Regions from separate parts of the Homo sapiens genome. Here regions 1 and 3 are each linked to region 2. The links are contacts of gene promoters, found by promoter capture Hi-C in blood cells and fetal thymus (Javierre and others, 2016). All regions are on one chromosome and are shown on one strand. The core of a region is centred on a gene start or on the middle of the fragment in contact, and the rest is flanking DNA. Distances in the headings are between cores, read along the strand shown.

What was found. Contacts are between HindIII fragments. The CHiCAGO score rates a contact against its expected background, and 5 or more counts as called.
Region 1: a fragment that was not itself captured here is called in contact with the fragment with the promoter of EAPP in region 2 in 1 of 17 cell types (M0 macrophages); the score reaches 5.0 in M0 macrophages.
Region 3: a contact is called between a fragment that was not itself captured here and the fragment with the promoter of EAPP in region 2, in 1 of 17 cell types (M1 macrophages). The highest score is 6.0, in M1 macrophages.

The regions. Positions count from the first base shown.
Region 1 is chr14:31,129,801-31,132,500 of GRCh38, forward strand. The region is part of intron 24 of HECTD1 (HECT domain E3 ubiquitin protein ligase 1); the gene reads right to left. Among named protein-coding and RNA genes, the nearest start is that of HECTD1, 77 kb to the right of the region's middle. The HindIII fragment of the contact is 3,591 bases long and covers 1-2,700 here.
Region 2 is chr14:34,538,451-34,541,150 of GRCh38, forward strand. EAPP (E2F associated phosphoprotein) reads right to left here and starts at 1,251. Exons shown (of 6, transcript NM_018453.4): 1 at 1,105-1,251. The coding sequence starts at 1,178. LOC105370447 (a long non-coding RNA gene) reads left to right here and starts at 1,299. Exons shown (of 2, transcript XR_943739.1): 1 at 1,299-1,334; 2 at 1,736-2,700. RefSeq lists enhancers at 454-1,378, 1,029-1,188 and a silencer at 1,329-1,428. The HindIII fragment of the contact is 15,759 bases long and covers 299-2,700 here.
Region 3 is chr14:31,396,153-31,398,852 of GRCh38, forward strand. HEATR5A (HEAT repeat containing 5A) reads right to left here. Exons shown (of 36, transcript NM_015473.4): 4 at 2,521-2,629. Among named protein-coding and RNA genes, the nearest start is that of HEATR5A, 23 kb to the right of the region's middle. The HindIII fragment of the contact is 3,802 bases long and covers 1-2,700 here.

The sequences.
Region 1 (2,700 bases), core at 115-2,614, 3.4 Mb before region 2:
TTTAAATCTACTGGGTTATATTTCATTTTTAAAATTATTTGATTTTTAGAGATGAGGTCTTGCGTTGCCCATGCTAATCTTGAACTCCTGGGCTTAAACGATCCTCCCACCTCAGCCTCTGGAGTAGCTGGGATTATAGATGTGAGCCACTGCACCTGGCTTGGTTACTTCTTAAATGGAAGAACTGTTTAAGAAATTTTAAAAGATTGATATACATGGTAAAATACTGCCACTTCAGCAAGTAAACAGAATCTAGGTAAAAGTTTTAAAACTGCTAAATATAATTATGTGTAGTCAAATTTTTTTTCTACAAAAACATGCCAGCTTACCATTAATTTCTTACAATTTGGGCTAACCTCTCAAAATATTCATATATTGCCATAGAAATTTTAGTCACTAGTTCAAATAAAACACTAAAGTTAGCATTTCGGTTGTGTTCTCAAAGTTCAGTGGTTCCTTGGTTCTCTTATATTAAATAATTAAGTTCAATAAATTTGAATAAACACAGAAAATTCTAAAAAAAAATTTAAAGAGCATACTGAACTCTTTTATTAGAACTATCTGCTAAAGCTAATAACATGTACAGAATTAACGAGCATAATGATATTCAATCTATATATTTACTTGTAGTAGAAAAATGATATTCTTTTTTTAAAAAGGTAATTAACTTCCAAAAGCAAAAAAAAAATTGTCTATTAAAAGCAAATTAATAGAAATTTTACAATCTTATTTTAGTGTTATAAGCTAACTATTTCAGGGAAAAACATAAGACATAAAAAACATTTTTTTAGAAGTATAACAAGCCTTTATAAAGTTCTTACCCATACATAAAAGGGGCCCAAGATCACATACACACCCATCCACACACCCAGATGCTCACCCACACTTACACCAAGTTCATATGTTTATGATAGCACTCAGAGGGAAATAATATTGAATTACCTGTGGGGATTATCTGCATATGTGTTCTTTGAAAGGAAAAGTGACTGCCCCAAATCTACATAAGTAGCTTAGATGAGATTTTTCAATTGCCTCTATTTTTTTCTGTATGCTGAAATAATCTCTGAAGAACCAACATTTAACTATCTCTTCTGCTACACAGAAATGTGTGAGAAAAGGAAAAGTTTCAAAAACATAGCCCAATCTCAAATAAAAGTAACTTTTGTATTATATTAATTGGCCCAAAAAACATACTCTCTCAACTCCTTCTACACCCAAAAGATAAACCAAAAAAAAAAAAAAATAGAGTCAGTAATGACTATCCATCATTAGAAATGGTTGGTTTAAGTATTTGAAAGCTAAGAACCCTCTCTGACATAGAGACTCAAAGGCATAACTTGATGGGAATGGCCATGTTGATTAGGCAAAACTAAATTTCTACATTTGTCAGATTAGCAAAAATAGGCCTTTCTTGAACGCTAAACTCTGAGATTTCTAGGCTAGGTGATTTTTTTTTTTCCCATCTGTGGCAGCTAAAACGAACAAACAAACAAAAAACACTCAAAATATTCAGATGTACATGTTAGCACTCTCTCATAGGGAGGTGCCATACCTCACGGTTCAAATATATTTTATAGATCAGTAACATTATTATACTGACATGTAATTGCAACTTACTATGCAGCAAAAATGAATCGAGAAGAAAAATAACCCACAGTGTCTATTTACCTTTGTATAGGCAATTGCTTAAGTTACTCTGCTTTTAACATTTGTACTTCAATAAAATGCTTATGTATGTATAGGAATGTCACAGTGCAAGATGCTGCTAGTACAGGCACAAAGTATTAAAATTATTTTTTGAAGACTGGTGGTTGTATTAAAACTGTTGTGCCATTGTATCTTGGGAAAAAAAAAAAGATTCTAATTTCCCTATGCAATTGCTTCAGTTGACTCCATCCTGAGAAAAAAGAACTGCATTCACACATCTCTAACTAGCCTCTTCTTATCAAGTCACATACATCAAGGCCAAAACAATTACAGGAAATAGAATAACAACTTTTTAATAAGTATCATCAAGATGCCTAAAAAGAAAACTTGAAATTTTCTGAGTTGAATGGCACTACTATTCAACTCAGTATAACAATAATAGTTGATATCTCAACTATTACTGGTATTTATGAATTTTAGGTCGCTGTAAACCTGTTTTGATTACAATGATTTGCAATTAGGGCATGATACTACATAAATACATTTGGCAGTAAAATAATTCAAGGAATAGAATCTTAAAAGCAATATAGTCAAAGGGTTTATTTGAATAAATAAATGTCTTTACCACATAAAACATGAAATTAAATGTCAGTCATTCTCGTAAGTACCGTCACATTTATTCTAGCTCTTTAAATATGTGGTGTAAGTTGCCGCGTGCGGTGGCTCACGCCTGTAATCCCAGCTCTTTGGGAGGCCGAGGTGGGTGGATCACCTGAGGTCGGGAGTTCAAGACCAGCCTGACCAACATGGAGAAACCCCGTCTCTACTAAAAATACAAAATTAGCCAGGCATGGTGGCCCATGCCTATAATCCTAGCTAGTCAGGAGGCTGAGACAGTAGAATCGCTTGAACCTGGGAAGCAGAGGTTGCAGTGAGCTGATATTGCGCCATTGCACTCCAGCCTGGGCAACAAGAGCGAGACTCTGTCTCAAAAAAAAAAAAAAAAATACATATATATACACACACATATATGTGGATATATATATGTGGTGT
Region 2 (2,700 bases), core at 1-2,500:
TTAACTGAAACTCTTTTTCACAGGGAATCCTGGTATCTATCCTCACTCCCAACAAAAGAAATCTTAACAGCAGTCTGATTTCCCATGCATCCAATGTCTCCCCATGACAATATGAGGAAACATTGTTCTTTTGATTTTTTTTTTTTTTAAGAAATGAGGTCTCACTATGTTGCCCAGGCTGTTCCTTTACTACCAGGCTTAAGAGATTCTCTCGCCTCAGACTCCCAAAGTCCTGGGATTACAGGCATGGGCCACCACACCCAGCCAAAGTTGTTAATGAAAGCATGGCTTTACAGAAAGCTTCTTTAGGCAGAATGAATGTTTTAAAGTTTAAGAATAGGATCTGCTGACAGCTTAAGAAATAACTAAATTTGTGTGGAAATATCTCGGCAAAACAGCTTCAAGTTTCCCTGGTAGAATAAAGCCCACCCTTCTGGAAATCCCACGAACCTTCTTCTGTGCCTATCTCAGGTCAATATTCTCTACAATGCTCTGCCAAGAAATATATACTTTATCTTATTACCCTTATTATACTATAAGCCTCTGGAAGACAAGGACCTTATGATTTATCTCTGTAGCTCAGAGCGAGCATACAACAGTCCCTGTCAAAAAATAAAAATAAAAAAGGCTGTTCAATATTCCCTTATTTCTGTTTATGGCAGTTTAGTCTTCAAGATGGACACTTCACATTAAGTCCTGTGAGCCTCACAACAAACATAGTGTGTTATACTATGTTATATAGGTTATACAATTATGTTATTATAGTTCAATTTTACAGGTGAGTAATCGAGGATAACTGACTTGCCTTCCGTCACTCTGCTACTAAGGTGTAGAGACAGGTTTCGATCTCATTGCTTTTGAAGATTTACACGCGGTCCCCCGTGATTCCGGAATATCCCTCTTCCTACAGGCGACATCGGCACCGCCTCCCCCCGGGACTGCGCGACCCCATCAGGAAAGCCCTTTGGCTTCGCACAAGTAACAGGCACGACAGGCTCCCGAGCCGCTAGGGTCTGCGTAGGCTCGGCAGGCGCAACGAATGGAGGCGACCAAAGCCAGGCCTCGACCCAAATCCTCGGGGGCCAGGGTGGGGCGGGAGCCCACCTGCTCAAAGCCGGCTCCTCGTCGCTAGGCTCTTCAACCGCGTAGGGGTCGTAGTCATCCGGAAGCCGGTTCATGGTGGCCTGCAGCGGCCTACACCGTCCACAAGCAATTTGCAGCGTCTCTGTTTACACTGCAAGTCCAGTCCCTAAAGCGCCCCTGACGCCACTTCCGCCTGAACGTCCCAGTCCCCCTTGCGCGCCCGCGCAGACCGACAGCACCGAGGGAGGCAGGTAGAAGGCGGGGAAGGGGCGGAGCAGGAGCGAAAAGGGGCGGGGACGGGACGGGGGCGGGTCTTAATCCCACCATTTTTGTTTTGTTTTGTTTTTTGGAGACGGAGTTTCGCTCTTGTTGCCCAGGCTGGAGTGCAATGGCGCGATCTCGGCTCACCGCAACCTCCGCCTCCCAGGTTCAAGCAATTCTCCTACCGCAGCCTCCCGAGTAGCTGGGATTACAGGCATACACCACCACGCCCGGCTAATTTTGTATTTTTAGTAGAGACGGGGGTTTCTCCATGTTGAGGCTGGTCTCGAACTCCGGACCTCAGGTGATCCGCCCACCTCGACCTTCCAAAATGCTGGGATTACAGGCGTGAGCCACCGCTCCCGGCCAATCCCACCATTTTCTTCCGCAGCTTCTGCTTACAGGAAAATAGCAGCTACCTTGTCACCAAAAATAATAATGATGGGCACCCTCATAAGTGACAGTCTCTGAGGTGAACATGCTACATGCAGCGTCTCATCACCTACGAAGCAGGAATCTAGACGCTGAGGGACACACAGCCCGAAATCCAATAAGTCCTCAGACACCAGCACCCACATCCCTCCAACCTCGCCTCTAACCCTTATGCCTTCCACACCATGAGGCTCTCAACCTCTCCTTCACACTGTTCACTCCTCAGTCTGACTGCGGCCTCAACAATCTACGAAAAGTTATCTTTTCTCGTCATCTTCCCAGTCCCCACTTTTGCTCAGCCCTCAACTGATCCCACTCGATACCTGAGGAGAACAGGCAGATGACAGCCACTTGAGCTCCATCGGGAGACTGTTTCTAACCCTGTTTCTGAACCAGGAACTCGGGTTCCTGCCTCCTACCGAGACACTGTGGCACTCTCTAAAATGTGGAGTAGCTGTAATAAATCTACTCCTGTATTATGCTTTACAGTGCAGGTCTTAGTTTTTCTTTTTTCTCATTTCTTTTGAAATGGCATCTCGAACAAAGTCCACCAATCCCTTTACAAAAGAATGAACTGCTCCTCTGTGTGTACTTCATAGAAGGTGGAATCGGACAGAAGCAGGTTAGTGACAGTTATTCCTGAAATACAGGAGCAGAGTACAGTCTGTTGTGGTTTCCCGGATTCCGCGCCTAGCTCAGCCAATTAAGCATGAGACATAGGCCATTGAGCCACTTAGTAGTTATGCGAGTGGATAGATTGGTATGTAGAGGGAAAGAGGTCTGCTGTAAAGAACAACACTTGTTTGTCTGTGGGGAAAGAAAAGCAGAATACTTGAGATGAAAGTTGGCATACAAATAGGATACTATCGCCAGTAGTTATATTACAAACATTATCGGCCTTTCTAGTGTGAATGAACATTAGAC
Region 3 (2,700 bases), core at 112-2,611, 3.1 Mb before region 2:
TCGAGACCAGCCTGGGCAACATGGTGAAACCTTAACTCTACAAAAAATACAATTTTAGTCAGGAGTGTTAGTGCACATCTCTAGAACCAGCTACTCAGGAGACTGAGGTGGGAGCGTGGTAGTGCACACCTTTAGTCTCAGCTACTGAGAGGCTGAGGTGGGAGGGTGGCTTGAGCCTGGCAAGCAGAGGGTGCAGTGGGAGGCAGAGGGTACAATCGGAGGCAGAGGGTGCAGTGAGTACAGACTGCACCACTGAACTCCAGCCTGGGTGACAGAGCCAGACCCTGTCTTTAAAAAAAAAGAAAAAGAAATAGTAGCTGCTTATTTTATTAATGTTTTACTAAATGCCTCAAATCATATCTATATCCCAGGAAGTTGGGCCACTGAAGGTAGAGAAGTTGGAGTTGGAGGAAGACAAAGATCAGCATCAAGAATCATTTCATAGTAATATTGTTAATTTATCTTTGTTTAAAGGCACTTAAAAGTCATAGGTGAACATAATAAAATAATGCTAACGAGCAACTTCAGAACTTTTCTTTTATTCCAGTTCCAAATGTTGTGTATCACTGGTGAGTGTGGACATCTCTGAAATGTTGTGATACCTGATCAACTAAATCAAAGATCAAAAGTAGGGAATATGGCTCAAGGATGTTAGTTAAAAAAATTTAAAAAATAGGGGAGCAACAATATACTTATCAGTAACTTACAACATTTTCATAACTATAGAGTAATCCTCTATTAACCAAGGGGCCTAAAAAGTGTTAGAACTTAACCAGTGGAATTAGGAGGAAGAAAGTTTAAAATGACTGTATCTTAGTAAATAAAATTTCTTACAGATATCTGCTTTTAAATAAAACCAGACTTACAGGTATTAAAAAAAATCTGTTCTCCTTAATCATTTTCTTCAATCTTTTAGGAAACTATTGCTGAGAAGTGATCTGATGAGCAAATTTTCTCATCAGTTTTACGTTAGAGTCTTCACTTCTTAAAGTTCTTGAATCAGCTACGTCCTTCTTAAAATTTAACCTATTTTTTATTGGAATTTTCCCATGTTTTGCCTTGTTACATTTTTTAAAAATGTGTGTGTGACTTTCCAACATTTCTATAAATTACTTCAGGGCTGTTCTCTAGATTATTTTTGTAAATAAAGTGACAAGAGTAACCAGTGTGATGTTTTTAGATTTTTTTTTTTAAATAAATATTTTTTAAGAGACACGGTCTTGGGCCGGGCATGGTGGCTCATGCCTGTAATCCTAGCACTTTGGGAGGCCGAGGCAGCTGGATCATTTGAGGTCAGGAGTTCAAGAATGGCCTGGTGAACATGGTGAAACCCCGTCTCTACTAAAAATACAAAAAATTAGCTAGGCGTGGTGGCACGCGCCTGTAATCCCAGCTACTTGTGAGGCCGAGGCTGGAGAATTGCTGGAGCCCAGGAGGCGGAGATTGTAGTGAGCTGAGATCGCGCCATTGCACTCAAGCCTGGGTGACACAGCTAGACTCCGTCTCAAAAAAAAAAAAAAAAAAGGGACAGGGTCTTGCTCTGTCACCCAGGATGGAGTCCAGTGGCATGACCATAGCTCACGACAGCCTCGAACTCCTGGGCTCAAGTGATCCTCCTGCCTCAGTCTTCCGAGGGGCTAGAACTACAGGTGTTCACCACCATACCCCAACTAATTTATGTTTTTGTAGAGACAGGGTCTTCCAGTGTTGCCCAGGTGGTCTCAAACTCCTGGCTTTAAGTGATCCTCCCATCTCCTCTCAAGTAGCTGAGATCACAGGTGCGAACTACCATGTCCATGTTTTTATATTTAAAGGTGCTAAGTTGTCCTTACATATTAGGGACCACGGATTTAAACCTTTTGCTAAACAAACATATAAATGCTTTCATTTCAAAACCAGTAAAACCACAGCTGGCAAGAGATTATAGTATCTTAATATCTTAAAGTCAAATGAAGAGACAGTCTCAAAAACAAAGGGTGTTCCAGAGGAGTAAGTGACACAAATATTTCAATGAGGATAAAGTTGAAAATATACTCCCTTGGCAATTAAAAGGTCATCTGGATCTGGTCACACATCCTCTACACTCTTTCCCCTCAGATTATATTCCTTACTACCTTCTGATGCTAGTACAGTAACTCATCTATCCATAAGGTATACAATGTTTATCAACTATGTAGTCCCTGGTGACAAGCAGTTGCACTGGCACCAGTTAAGTACTATCAAATAGAAAAGATGGAGTAAGAGGAGAGAGTAGGGATGGGACTGTAAGTGGAATACGTTAGTTTTCGCCCGCTTGGATTTATATGAATACATGAAATTCTACTGCATTACTATTTTTCTAACTGGGATTCAATATACAGAGTACATACAGTGCATCACCTAGAAATATTAATTTATGGGTACATTTATATTCATATCTACATATGCTTGACATATGTAAAGCTCTTTGATTTGCTCAGGAAAGCATAAACCAATAAAATGCTGTCTTTTCATTCTTTGGCTGAACTTGTAATTACTTACCTCTGCACTCTTCATAGCTTTAAGAATATTCCCCACTGTATCAGTAAAGGTGTTACCCAGTATTCTACCCAACTTCTTGTACAAGGAACCCAAACATACCACAGCAGCACTGAAACAACATTTAAATTAGAAATTAGTCACAGCTGAAAAAATAGGAATAAAAAGATCTTAGGATATGTA